Regions from separate parts of the Homo sapiens genome. Here region 1 is linked to region 2. Evidence: promoter capture Hi-C in 16 types of primary human blood cells and fetal thymus (Javierre and others, 2016). All regions are on one chromosome and are shown on one strand. Each heading gives the region's core, a stretch centred on a gene start or on the middle of the fragment in contact. The rest is flanking DNA. Distances are from core to core; before and after follow the strand shown.

What was found. Contacts are between HindIII fragments. The CHiCAGO score rates a contact against its expected background, and 5 or more counts as called.
Region 1: a contact is called between a fragment that was not itself captured here and the fragment with the promoter of XIRP2 in region 2, in 2 of 17 cell types (non-activated CD4 T cells and naive CD4 T cells). The highest score is 5.4, in non-activated CD4 T cells.

What each region holds. Positions count from the first base shown.
Region 1 is chr2:166,698,502-166,705,138 of GRCh38, reverse strand. No RefSeq gene overlaps it. Among named protein-coding and RNA genes, the nearest start is that of XIRP2, 190 kb to the left of the region's middle. The HindIII fragment of the contact is 2,800 bases long and covers 2,824-5,623 here.
Region 2 is chr2:166,885,123-166,891,488 of GRCh38, reverse strand. It overlaps XIRP2 (xin actin binding repeat containing 2), which reads right to left and starts at 3,009. Exons shown (of 11, transcript NM_152381.6): 1 at 2,932-3,009. The HindIII fragment of the contact is 3,763 bases long and covers 286-4,048 here.

The DNA.
Region 1 (6,637 bases), core at 2,974-5,473, 190 kb after region 2:
AAATACTGGCAAACCAAATCCAGCAGCACATCAAAAAGCTTATCCACCATGATCAAGTGGGCTTCATCCCTGGGATGCAAGTCTGGTTCAATATACGGAAATCAATAAATGTAATCCAGCATATAAACAGAACCAAAGACAAAAACCACGTGATTATCTCAATAGATGCAGAAAATGCCTTTGACAAAATTCAACAACGCTTCATGCTAAAAACTCTCAATAAATTAGGTATTGATGGGACGTATCTCAAAATAATAAGAGCTATCTATGACAAACCCATAGCCAATATCATACTGAATTGGCAAAAACTGGAAGCATTCCCTTTGAAAACTGGCACAAGGCAGGGATGCCCTCTCTCACCACTCCTATTCAACATAGTGTTGGAAGTTCTGGCCAGGGCAATTAGTCAGGAGAAGGAAATAAAGGGTATTCAATTAGGAAAAGAGGAAGTCAAATTGTCCCTGTTTGCAGATGACATGATTGTATATCTAGAAAACCCCATTGTCTCAGCCCAAAATCTCCTTAAGCTGATAAGCAACTTCAGCAAAGTCTCAGGATACAAAATCAATGTACAAAAATCACAAGCATTCTTATACACCAATAACAGACAAACAGAGAGCCAAATCATGAGTGAACTTCCATTCACTATTGCTTCAAAGAGAATAAAATACCTAGGAATCCAACTTACAAGGGATGTGAAGGACCTCTTCAAGGAGAACTACAAACCACTGCTCAATGAAATAAAAGAGGATACAAACAAATGGAAGAACATTCCATGCTCATGGGTAGGAAGAATCAATATCGTGAAAATGGCCATACTGCCCAAGGTAATTTTGAGATTCAATGCCATCCCCATCAAGCTACCAATGACTTTCTTCACAGAATTGGAAAAAACTACTTTAAAGTTCATAGGGAACCAAAAAAGAGCCCGCATTGCCAAGTCAATCCTAAGCCAAAAGAACAAAGCTGGAGGCATCACACTACCTGACTTCAAACTTTACTACAAGGCTACAGTAACCAAAACAGCATGGTACTGGTACCAAAACAGAGATATAGATCAATGGAACAGAACAGAGCCCTCAGAAATAACGCCGCATATCTGCAACTATCTGATCTTTGACAAACCTGAGAAAAACAAGCAATGGGGAAAGGATTCCCTATTTAATAAATGGTGCTGGGAAAACTGGCTAGCCATATGTAGAAAGCTGAAACTGGATCCCTTCCTTACACCTTATACAAAAATCAATTCAAGATGGATTAAAGACTTCAATTTTAGACCTAAAACCATAAAAACCCTAGAAGAAAACCTAGGCATTACCATTCAGGACATAGGCATGGGCAAGGACTTCATGTCCAAAACACCAAAAGCAATGGCAACAAAAGCCAAAATTGACAAATGGGATCTAATTAAACTAAAGAGCTTCTGCACGGCAAAAGAAACTACCATCAGAGTGAACAGGCAACCTACAAAATGGGAGAAAATTTTCACAACCTACTCATCTGACAAAGGGCTAATATCCAGAATCTACAATGAACTCCAACAAATTTACAAGAAAAAAACAAAGAACCCCATCAAAAAGTGGGTGAAGGAAATGAACAGACACTTCTCAAAAGAAGACATTTATGCAGCCAAAAAACACATGAAAAAATGCTCATCATCACTGGCCATCAGAGAAATGCAAATCAAAACCACAATGAGATACCATCTCACACCAGTTAGAATGGCAATCATTAAAAAGTCAGGAAACAACAGGTGCTGGAGAGGATGTGGAGAAATAGGAACACTTTTACACTGTTGGTGGGACTGGAAACTAGTTCAACCATTGTGGAAGTCAGTGTGGCCATTCCTCAGGGATCTAGAACTAGAAATACCATTTGACCCAGCCATCCCATTACTGGGTATATACCCAAAGGACTATAAATCATGCTGCTATAAAGACACATGCACACGTATGTTTATTGCGGCACTATTCACAATAGCAAAGACTTGGAACCAACCCAAATGTCCAACAATGATAGATTGGATTAAGAAAATGTGGCACATATACACCATGGAATACTATGCAGCCATAAAAAATGATGAGTTCATGTCCTTTGTAGGGACATGGATGAAATTGGAAATCATCTTTCTCAGTAAACTATCACAAGAACAAAAAACCAAACACTGCATATTCTCACTCATAGGTGGGAAATGAACAATGAGAACACATGGATACAGGAAGGAGAACATCCCACTCTGGGGACTGTTGTGGGGTAGGGGGAGGGGGGTCGGATAGCATTGGGAGATATACCTAATGCTAGATGATGAGTTAGTGGGTGCAGCGCACCAGCATGGCACATGTATACATATGTAACTAACTTGCACATTGTGCACATGTACCCTAAAACTTAAAGTATAATAATAAAAAAAAAAAGAAAGAAAAATCAATGACCCCTCTCCCACTTTGCTCAAGGACCATGCTACAATATCACTATGAAGTGACAGAATTTTGGCTCTAGTTCTGTCCTGCCAGCTCAGCTATGGGGGGATCAGGGGTTGGGTCCTAATTTTGTGGTTGCAGTTTTATATTGTGGCAGGTAGAGGAGAAATTAAGCACATTACCAATCATATGTGGTGAAGTAACAGCCCTTGACCTTGGTTAATTGCCCTAAGCACCAGCCGTAGCCAGTTTCATGGAATTTTGCAAGGAGGCCAGCTCCTTTTCTGGGAGGCCAGCCTGTAGATGATCAGTTAGATAAGTTAACCCTTTCCTATTAGCAGATAATCACATTGTATAGGGTACTAAGGGTTTTATAAGGCATTATGTCTGTCCTGGAAAAGCTTCCAGATTCACAGGGTAAAAACTGGCAGCACTGATATAGTTTTAGCATTGATGATGAATACTTACTGCAAAGATGCGTTGCTTGGAATCATTCAGTTTCAAATTTGATAGTTACTTACTTCGTGTTATTTCAGCATGGTTGTAGTTCATGGAGAACCTAGTCTGCTTTTGTTATTCTCTGGGTGTTCTCTAACATCTCATCCTAAATAGGAAAGATTTTTTAAATTAGCAGAAATAATTTTTTATCTTAGTGGATATTTAATAAAACCACTACTATAGTAATTATTGAAGGTTTGTGAAGTGGTTCCCATAACTCTGTGCTCAACAAGACACAAAAAGTTCAAAGAGTATATATTCAAACACTGTTCCTAACTCTTAACACTTTTGGCCCTAGACTAATCACTTAATCTGAAAACATTCTGATTGCCTTATTTACAAAATGAGAAAAGTAGAAGAGCCTACTCATCAGAATGCCAGAATGTGTATAAAGTGATGAGTATTTGTATTTAACCAGCTTAAGATATGTAAATTACAACAGGCGACAAGGTAGAATACTATCTTATGTGTTTCTATGCCTGAGGAATTTTCTTTCCTCTTCTAGGCATCAAGCAGAATCATTTAATGTCTAAATCACACTTCCTTTCTGACAGGAGTCACTTCAAGTTAGCATTTAAATTGTATTTTTGTCAGTGGAAACCTCCTCTCCACAAGGCTTCTGAAGGGCAGGTGACTTGTCTAATGCCTGTATACCTGAAATCCCTAATGCATTACTAGGACCATAGTACATACTTACTAGGTATTGCTGAGTTGAGTAACATCACAAATAGACAGCTAGGAGGACAGCACAATATCAACATACTTTCTCACAATTCTTGCACAGTTACATCATCAGGTACAAAAACCTCCGTCTTCAGCCTTTTGTTGCTTGAGCCAAAAGATCTTTCCTTTATTTTTGATGGGTGGCTGATATCAGTGGGATCATAATTACAGCCCTCTGTGCCAAACATCAGGTTAATAGAAACTATTGTTGAAGAGAAAAACATCCTGTAGTTCTTTGTCTCCAAAATTCCCCAGCAGACATGAGGACTTCCCACGAGCTGAAGAGCTTAAAAGAAAGTCTCCATTCGCAAAATAATTATAACCATACTTTTTGTTACCCTCAGTGGTTTGATGAGTGGATTAAAAGAAGAGAATACACCTAGGTATATTTTCACTTTCTTCTCAGCTCTAAAAACTAGATGTCCCTGTTGATACCAATAACAGGAGAAAATAGTTTCATTCCCTATGGCCATTAGCTTTTTCAATACTTATTTTAAATAGTAAATAAAATTCCTTCAGATAATGAACATATTATCTCAGTTAGAGAGGGAGAAATAGCTAGTAAATTGCTTATAACACAAAATAATCAATGTGTTAATGAACTTCTTTTTCCATTAAAACAATACTACAAAGTTTGCTGATTATACTTAACTGATTGATTCTTTTGTTCTTAAGGAGCAAAGTCATACATCTTCACCTGAAGAATTCTAGAATGTGTTGGGATTGTCCCAATTTAACTTTTCTAGAAAGGCAGAATGATGGATATTACATTGGTTAATGTCTGCGAGAGGCAGAAAGATGAAGGCATAGGACATTGAGTAAGAGCAGAGAAGCCCTTAAAAAAAAGGCAAGGCTTATATTGCTCTATTCACAACTCTCATGTCTGTCTTTCTCTCCTACCTTTCTTAATCTAGTCAATTTAAATCATAGATTATTTACTCAATAGGCCATACATTCATTGAAAAACAACTTGAGTGACCTTTTCATTTATAAATTCAAAGAACATAAAATAAGGTAGTGGCGGCTGCTCAGTTTGTATTGACAGAGTTATCTAGTCTTTTGAGATTCCAAGACTATTTCTATTTAATCATAAACATCCTGTAAAAAGAACTGTCATCTGCTACATACATCCCACTTAAGCGAAATCAGATTGTATGCCATTTTCCAACTTTGCTCTTGACATAAAAGAAAATAGGTTTAAGGGTTAGCATTAATGTCTATGTTCTGCTGTCCTCTGCTGGTGTCATAGGAAAATATTTAATAGTGAACTCACTAGTTGGGTCTTTAATTCCAGCTATAAGGATAAAATAAGTTTATACAGAGTCTGATATTAAAAGTAAACAGTAAAAACCTAAATTTTTTAAAAAGGAAATATAAAACAAAACATTTTATTCTTCCTTTAGTGCAAGCTCACACTTGTACAAAAGTCTATATCTGATTTAGTAATTCTGTATTTGTATTTAATAACTAAATTTATTTTGCTGAAATATTGCTCAAGTTTGCAATAGTTTGCAAGTGTGCATTGCAGTTCTGCTGCCTTTTGTATACTGATTAGTATTAAGGTGGCAATGAACATGTCTCTTACATATTAGAGCAAATATTTAAAAATTACCTCCCACTTTCTCTCCTCCAGCACATTTCTCCCTCTGTCCTAATATTATTAAATTCTGGAAACATGTTATAAAATAGGGCAGATATTATATACTTCTAACATTTCCAAAATGTACTCATGTGTTTATTTTTAGGCACAACTTGCAGGAAAATTGTTAGAAATAAGTTGTTTATAATCTTTGCGGCATCATATAAGGTTTTGTCACATAGCCAACAGTTTTTTGATATCCCACATATATACAGGGTAAAATACTTCCAGCTTTATGGTTTTGTTGTAGTACAGAATGTTTTTCCTAGAGAATCATAATTATAAAATATCATTAGATGAACTTCCCTATACTCAGTGCTACTGAAATGATTAGAATAAAGCTTTTATTACAACTCATTTTTACATGAAGAATGGAATATTCAGTTATAGAAAGTCATAGTATCTCTAAAAGAAGTGATTTTTAGTGACCTTAATATTCTAAATGGTATAATACAAAAAAGAAGCAAAGTCATAAGACCCCCAACAGAGTTATCAAGATGGGAAAATTTATTTCTCTCATGTTTAGCTTATAAAAGCAATTTCTTTGAAAAGCCCAGTGGGTTGGAACTGATATTACAGGCACGAAGCAGCTGTTTGTGTGCTGTCTGTGTAACCTTAAAAGTGTGATTGTAACAGGAACAACGTTCAAGATTGCTGTCCCAAGGTTCAAGATTGCTTTCCCTAGGAGAGGATAATAATGAAAGAAAACATTATTAAATCACCCCATTGATATAATTACCGTTTATTGAGCAGTTCCTATATATCAAATAGAGGACTCAATGCTTTACATTTGTGATTTTACTTATTCCTCATGACTACACTAATAGGTCGTGATTATCACTTCCATTTTACAGACAAGAAATACATGCTCAGAAAATGTAGGCTCTTTGCCTTAAATCATACCAAAAATGTAAAAACAGAACAGAGTTTCCAAACCAAAGTGAGTTCAAGGTTCATATTTTTTCAATTAAATGGCAATCCTATATAATTAATTTTATTTTCACCAATACAAAATATCCAATATGGAAAATAAGTTGAATTATTAATACTTAAAGACTTTTGTTCTTTTGTCTATGGTGTGTGTGTGTGTGTGTGTGTGTGTGTGTGTGTGTGTGTAAAATCATAAAGTGAACATATATAAGGTCAGGTTTGGTAATTAATATTAATTATATTATTCTTTTGCACTTTACCAAATAACTCTAATAAATACGAAAGGCCTTTTGTTGCTTTGGGAACAAAGGTCTCTCTAAGCTATAATCCAGAGCCATCTACAGTTCAACTGAGCCACTCAATTTAGAGAATCTTTGATCCTTAAAGCTCACATTTTGGGGGTCTTTCGTTTATGTAAAAATAAACT
Region 2 (6,366 bases), core at 1,760-4,259:
TTATTATTATATATTGTCAATTACATTAACTTCTCCAGCTATGCTAGGTTTATCAGAACAATTAATTTTTCTGCCAAAAATGTAGCTAACATAGTACATTACTTAATTTCCCACTAATAGGATGCATGCATAATTCATATATGTAAAAAAGAGATAGGAACAATGCATTTGTTTATTTTTCTTTCTTTTATCTCCACATTCACATTTATTAAGTGAACCAGCTAAGGCACCTTGCTAAGACAAGTTATTAGAAGAATTTATGAAGTTGTATATTTGCAATAAGCTTATCTTACCGCCATGTCTTTTTCTGTCAAATTTCTGTCCTGTGACTCAGCTACCACAGTCACGTATCCATTAAAGGAAAACACAAATTTAACAGTTCTTTAACTTACTGATCTCATCTAACTAATGAACATCAAGCATGATGGACATACGTCGCCAGATAGCAGCTACAAGACACCAAATCTCTCATAGCCAGCTCTGGGAGCTGCATTATTTAGTAAGTCATGGAAGAGAGAAGTGCACCCTCAACCATAACCCCTGTTTGTGCTAGGTACTCAGCTTACAAGTTTACTCGTTAAAGGCTGATTGAAGCAGCTTTTGTTTCCAAATTCTATAGAAAAATAAACTCATCCTTAGTAAAAGGACCCATCTCAGAGTCCCAGAAAACTGTCTGGAGGATATGGGTAATTAGTATTTAACAAAAGAAGAAATTTGTTAAATATTTCATGGATTATCCCAAGCAGGCTGCGTACCAGACAATACCTGTTATTTAGGACAAAGCTGATGATCTGTCATATCAGCTTCTGCTACACCCACATACAGAATACATCTGTAATAAAAGAAGCATGCAAAATTTGCTCTCATGAAATTTCAAATATGAATCTCAGTGTGAATAATAAAAATAAAAACAAACTTTTAGAGTTTACTATTGAGAGCTGTCAAAGAATTATAAAACATAAATCCAGACTTCAGGGATTTACAGTCTGTTCAGATGCTCTGGTTCTCACCTTTTCTGTGCACCAACATCATCTGAGATGTCCTTAGCACTGCAGATTCTTAAGGGCCCACTCGGGGAGTTTCAGCTAGTTTCAAGGTCTGGAATTTGAACTGGGAACTGGCCTTCTTAGAAAGCACCAAGAGGTGATTCTGATGCCCGAAGCCTATGAACCCACAGTTAAAAAATAAAACTTAGGGGCCAGGCACGGTGGCTCATGCCTGTAATCCCAGCAGTTTGGGAGGCTGAGGTGGGAGGATCATGAGGTCAGAAGATTGAGACCATCCTGGCTAACACGGTGAAACCCCATCTCTACTAAAAAACAAAAAAATAGCCAGCATGGTGGCACGTGCCTGTAATACCAGCTACTCAGGAGGCTGAGGCAGGAGAATCGCTTGAACCTGGGAGGTGGACGTTGCAGTGAGCCGAGATCACACCACTATGCTCCAGTCTGGGTGACAGAGCAAGACTCTGTCTCAAATAAAATAAAATAAAATAAAACTAAAAAGTAAATAAAACTTAGCTACATCAACAGAAATATTAATGAACTGGAGAAGACACAACACCATTCATTAATTCAATACCTGCTTGAGGATTGCTTGCTATGGAGAAGAATAACAAGGAGAAGAAGGTGGAGATGGGGCTTACCCCAAAAAGGGGAAGAAATCTAGACTTATGAGAGAATGAAAATGAAGAAAATGACTACCAGCAAAAGCACAAAGGCATGGAAGGACTCATCAACATCAAGAACCCCAAGCAGGTAGGATAGACAACCAGAAAGGTCAAACAAGTGGATCTGGACAGGCTAAAGGAGCTTTTAAGGAGAAAATGCACTAGCAGGAGAGACAGAGCAAGCCAAGGTGGGCCTTGCCTGGCTGGTGATCATCTGGAAACAGTGGGAGAAGGCTGCAAGGAAGAAGGAAGTGGAGAGGAAAGCAAAATATGGTGCCACATTGTTGGGAAAATGAACATGGTTGCTCCCCTTGAATAAATAAACGCCACCTGCAGGAGGAGAGGCCAGGGACCTGGGCCAGAACCTCTGCTGTGTCTCACCTACCCTGTGCCCTGGCTCCACTGCAGCAGCCCTTCAAGGCCAGAAGCCCCATGGCCTGGGACATCCTCTTCATCTTGGCACAGAAATTGTTTAGGGAGGTGTCTGGGGGCGAGTGGGGAGAGAGTGGAGGAGGGACAGCTGTCATCTCTGAGATAGAAAGGTGCAGGAAAGCATTTCATATGTAACAATTTGAATGTTTTTTGCTGTTTTTAGAATTCAGAACCCTTGTTGGAGTGCCTAAGAAGTGGGGTAAGAAGAGCTTCCATTTGTCTGCTAGATCACATGTTAGTGGGTGGTTGTGCCAGGAGGCAGCTGCTGAGGGGTTTGCAACAACCACCCTGGTCTGTGTGCCTGAATGCTTATTCAGAATGGGGCTGTCAGCTGCAGGCTCATGCCCTTGGGTCCCTGAGGGTCATGGCTTTGTCCCTGGCGAGTCCTCTCTGACCTGACTCAATGGAACGAAGGAAGAAAGGAGAATTGCCCAGATGCTTTCTTTGGGTGATGCTGTTTTTGTTAAATTTCTTCCCCAGAAGTCCCTGACTATCTTTCAGTGTCCAAAAATATAATATATAGCCAAACTTACGTGTTTTGAGTCTGAGAGATTAACTATTTTTTCTCTGGGCACATTGCTGCCCCAGATTAAATTGTTTCTTAGTTAGAAAAACAAATGAATAACTAGAGATTCTAGCAGCAGTGTCTGTCACTAAGCGCTAGCCTGAATTTGTTGATGATGCTGTGATTCTATGCTAATTTAATGTATATTACTTAAAAGAAATAGGGAGAGAGAGGCAAAATAGTGTCCTGTCAGAAACTATCAAAGAGAAGCATGTATGTGTAGAAAAAATTATGAAAGAAGTGGTTTTTCTTAGGAAAATCTTACCTTTTTTCTACATGTCCCAGTCCCTACCAGATGTTCCCTTTTGTCTGCCTAGAGACCTGCCAGATTTCTCCAAATAATCCTGACTTCCTGGATACACCCACATAGAAACAGGTCGGGTTCTAGAAGAATTTGTCTGCTCCATGTTCCATCAGAATCAGATTATCTCATTATTTTGGAACAAGTTAATCTGCTGCAGATGAATTAATGAATGCTGCTGAGTTAGCTATTATCATTTTTTTCCTACATATTCTTAAAGGTATGTTTTAACCCAAAGACCCATAGTGACCAATGGCTCACTCTATGGCTGAGCTACACTTTAATTATCACTGTGCGTCAGGTTCCATACATATAAAAATAAACCTAATATTTAATTCAAAGTCATTTGTGAGGGGTTGGGACACCTGAGAATTTTGGATAATGATCATGAACATAGAGTCCAGATTCAAACCAAATGGCTTCAAATTCCTACTCAAACACTAGTATATGACATTAGATGCATTATTTAATATATCCAAACATTAGTTTCCTCACTTGAAAATTGGGATGATAATAGTATGTTCTAACTATACTGTTGTGAGATGAACAAAATAAATGAAATCACGCTCATAAAGAACTTAGGATAGTGCTTGGTATGAAGCAAGTGATCAGCGGATGTCAGCTTTTATTAGCAGTATTTAAGTATAGTTATTTGCAACCAAAAAGTGCTTAGCGATATCAGTTATCATCTTCTACAAATTATAGGAGACCACAGCTTCTGAGATAATTTTATTTTATTTTACATATAGTAAGCTATATACTATTTCAAATAAGTAAAGTCTTTCTCTTCGCAGACTCTAATTGCAGAGTCTAATTTGATTCTTATTTGGTCATCTAATAGCTCTTTGTTCCAAACTGGGGTTTTTATATATAAGGGGTTCAGTGATATACTACTAAAGACAATGTTGATTTTTTTGCATAAAGGAATTCAATAGCAGAAATGCATTTTAATATAATAAATTAAATCTTACAACTTTAATCAATGAATTTTCATATATAAAAATGACCATAAATTATATAAATAACTGCAGTGCTTAGCCAGTATTCAAACTGTAGGTTTCAGAAATCTTGTTTGAAAGCTTAAAATATAGGGCAGTTATGATATGGTATTTGGAGACGATACAGGGTGTGATATAAAGGTTCGACTACAAGGCTAATGTTATAAACTGGTCACATTTTGAACTGCAAATTCTGGTGACTTAATTATTTTTCCAAGAGTTTGCCAAAGTCAATAAAGAACAATTAGCTCAACATCTATGAACTTAAAAAGGACTTAGACATTCTGCTATATTAAAAAGACTAAATGCAGTACTTATCTTGGTGTGTTTCTTGTTTCTACTCTGGGAAGATTAAAAAACAGATAACTTTAGAAATTACAGACCTGTCAGCATCAGTATTTAGTTGAAAACTTACTGAAACATATCATCAAAAAATCAATTTTCAAGCACCTAGAAAATCATGAGTTACTGGGTAAAATCTCCTTGGCACTGTGAAAAATAAATCCTGTCAAATCAACTTAATTTCCTTCCACGACAGAGTGACAAAAACAGTAGACACAGAGAACTGGATAGACAAAATATATCCTGACCAAAGTCAGGCAAATTCCACATAACACAGAGAGAAAATACAGTTTGGGTGACATTTTGTCTTTATTAAGTACTCCTATTGAATAACTATGCTGAACATATCTGGAAGTGATACTCAGCTGGAATATTGAACATGTAAGGTGACTGGTTAGATATAAAGATGAGAGCATTCAAGACCAAGTTGTGGCAGGGCTGATTCTCACTATTTTAAACAAAATATTATCGGTAATTATGAGAAACCAAGTAAGAATCAGCATCATTTTGCTACTTCTGTTTTTTTAAAAAAGCAAGATCCCCAACAGAAAAGGATGTGTAGAACTGTAATGCCCACATAATGTTGCGATGGGACTACTGTTGGCACATTTGGGGTTTGGAGGCCCAGGAGAGTGAAGATGAATGGCATGAAATGAGGCATGCCTTTGAGTCAATGCTTCTGACCAGTGAGGGATCCATTTTTACTTCTGAGTCCAAATGTTTTTCCCACAAGAAAAGGTTAATGTATCCCTCTCATCTCCAAAGACTCATTTAACAAAATGACTCGTTTAACAAAATGAAAACAGCATGGACAAATAAGAGAGTGACATTTTTAAGAAACATTGGTATAGTTCCTAAGCAGAAAACCAGAAATCTGTGTGTGCATTAAAATAATAAACCACTTAGTAAAAATAATAATTGATTTTAAAGTGAATTTTGAGGAATCCCTTTAGCAGATATTCAAAGTATTTGGAAATAATGATAAATAACCTGATTTCAGTACATTATCATCCCATCCTAGAAGCTTGTAACAGTGGGAGACAGATGAAGATAGTGAGATTTCAAAGAAAGGGTAGTAGACACTATATCAACAATAAAGTATTTCCTTAGACAAGAGCTTGAAAATAATTTTCATCTCATGTGCCAACTCTAATTTTTAGTTGCCACCTGAGTAGGCTTGAGAAGTTGCACTAGGCCCACTCTAAAGAATAAAGAAGTGCACCAACCATTCAATTTGATGGGGGTGAGATATTTTGCCCATTCCCATGAAGACACAGACAGCAAGTTTATACTGGAGCCTAACTATAGTATTTATATTTGACTACATAATAAATCCATAGCAAGTAGTTGTTCTTGAATATTTGTTTATTCATTCTCAGCTAGGCTTTGGTATCTTTATTAGGACTTAAATTAAAAACTTTCTCCAGGTGTTGTTATACATATCTGATCTGGGTAAACCTACCTGGTTGCTGAAGTTCAGATTCTAATGCACTGAATGTCAACCAGGACCTTTTAGGGAATTGCGTCTTAACAACACTTATTTCTGTTGGGCTGTGCTAAATCATCTAGTCTCAACAATTATTAGATGCTTAGACTTCTCCTACAATACACATGTGGATGGGCCCTCCAGACTGGGTTGGCACATTATTGTAAGAGACTCACTTGTATTTATTAATTCATCAACTTGACACACATGAGATCCAAAATCAACTGGGAAAAAAGTCACTAGTTATTGAATTAAATCCCATGCAGTCTTTTATTCCCCAGGACCTTATATTTTGGTGTGACATTCCAGTGAATTAATTTCTGACTATAATTCATTGTTGAAAGGCTTGGCAGAGGAGTTGTGGAAGTCCAAAGCAAGGGTTTTGAATAAGCTCTCATTTGAAAAATTATATTTCTTGCATTAAACCCAAAATATCTCTGTAATTTTCCCTTTGAGCCTGTTCTAAGCCTTGAGGCCATATAAAACAAGTCTAATCCTTCTTCCACATGAACAAACAATCTTTAAATATTTGAATAAAATTCTAATGGGTCTCTTAAATTTTCTTTTTCTATT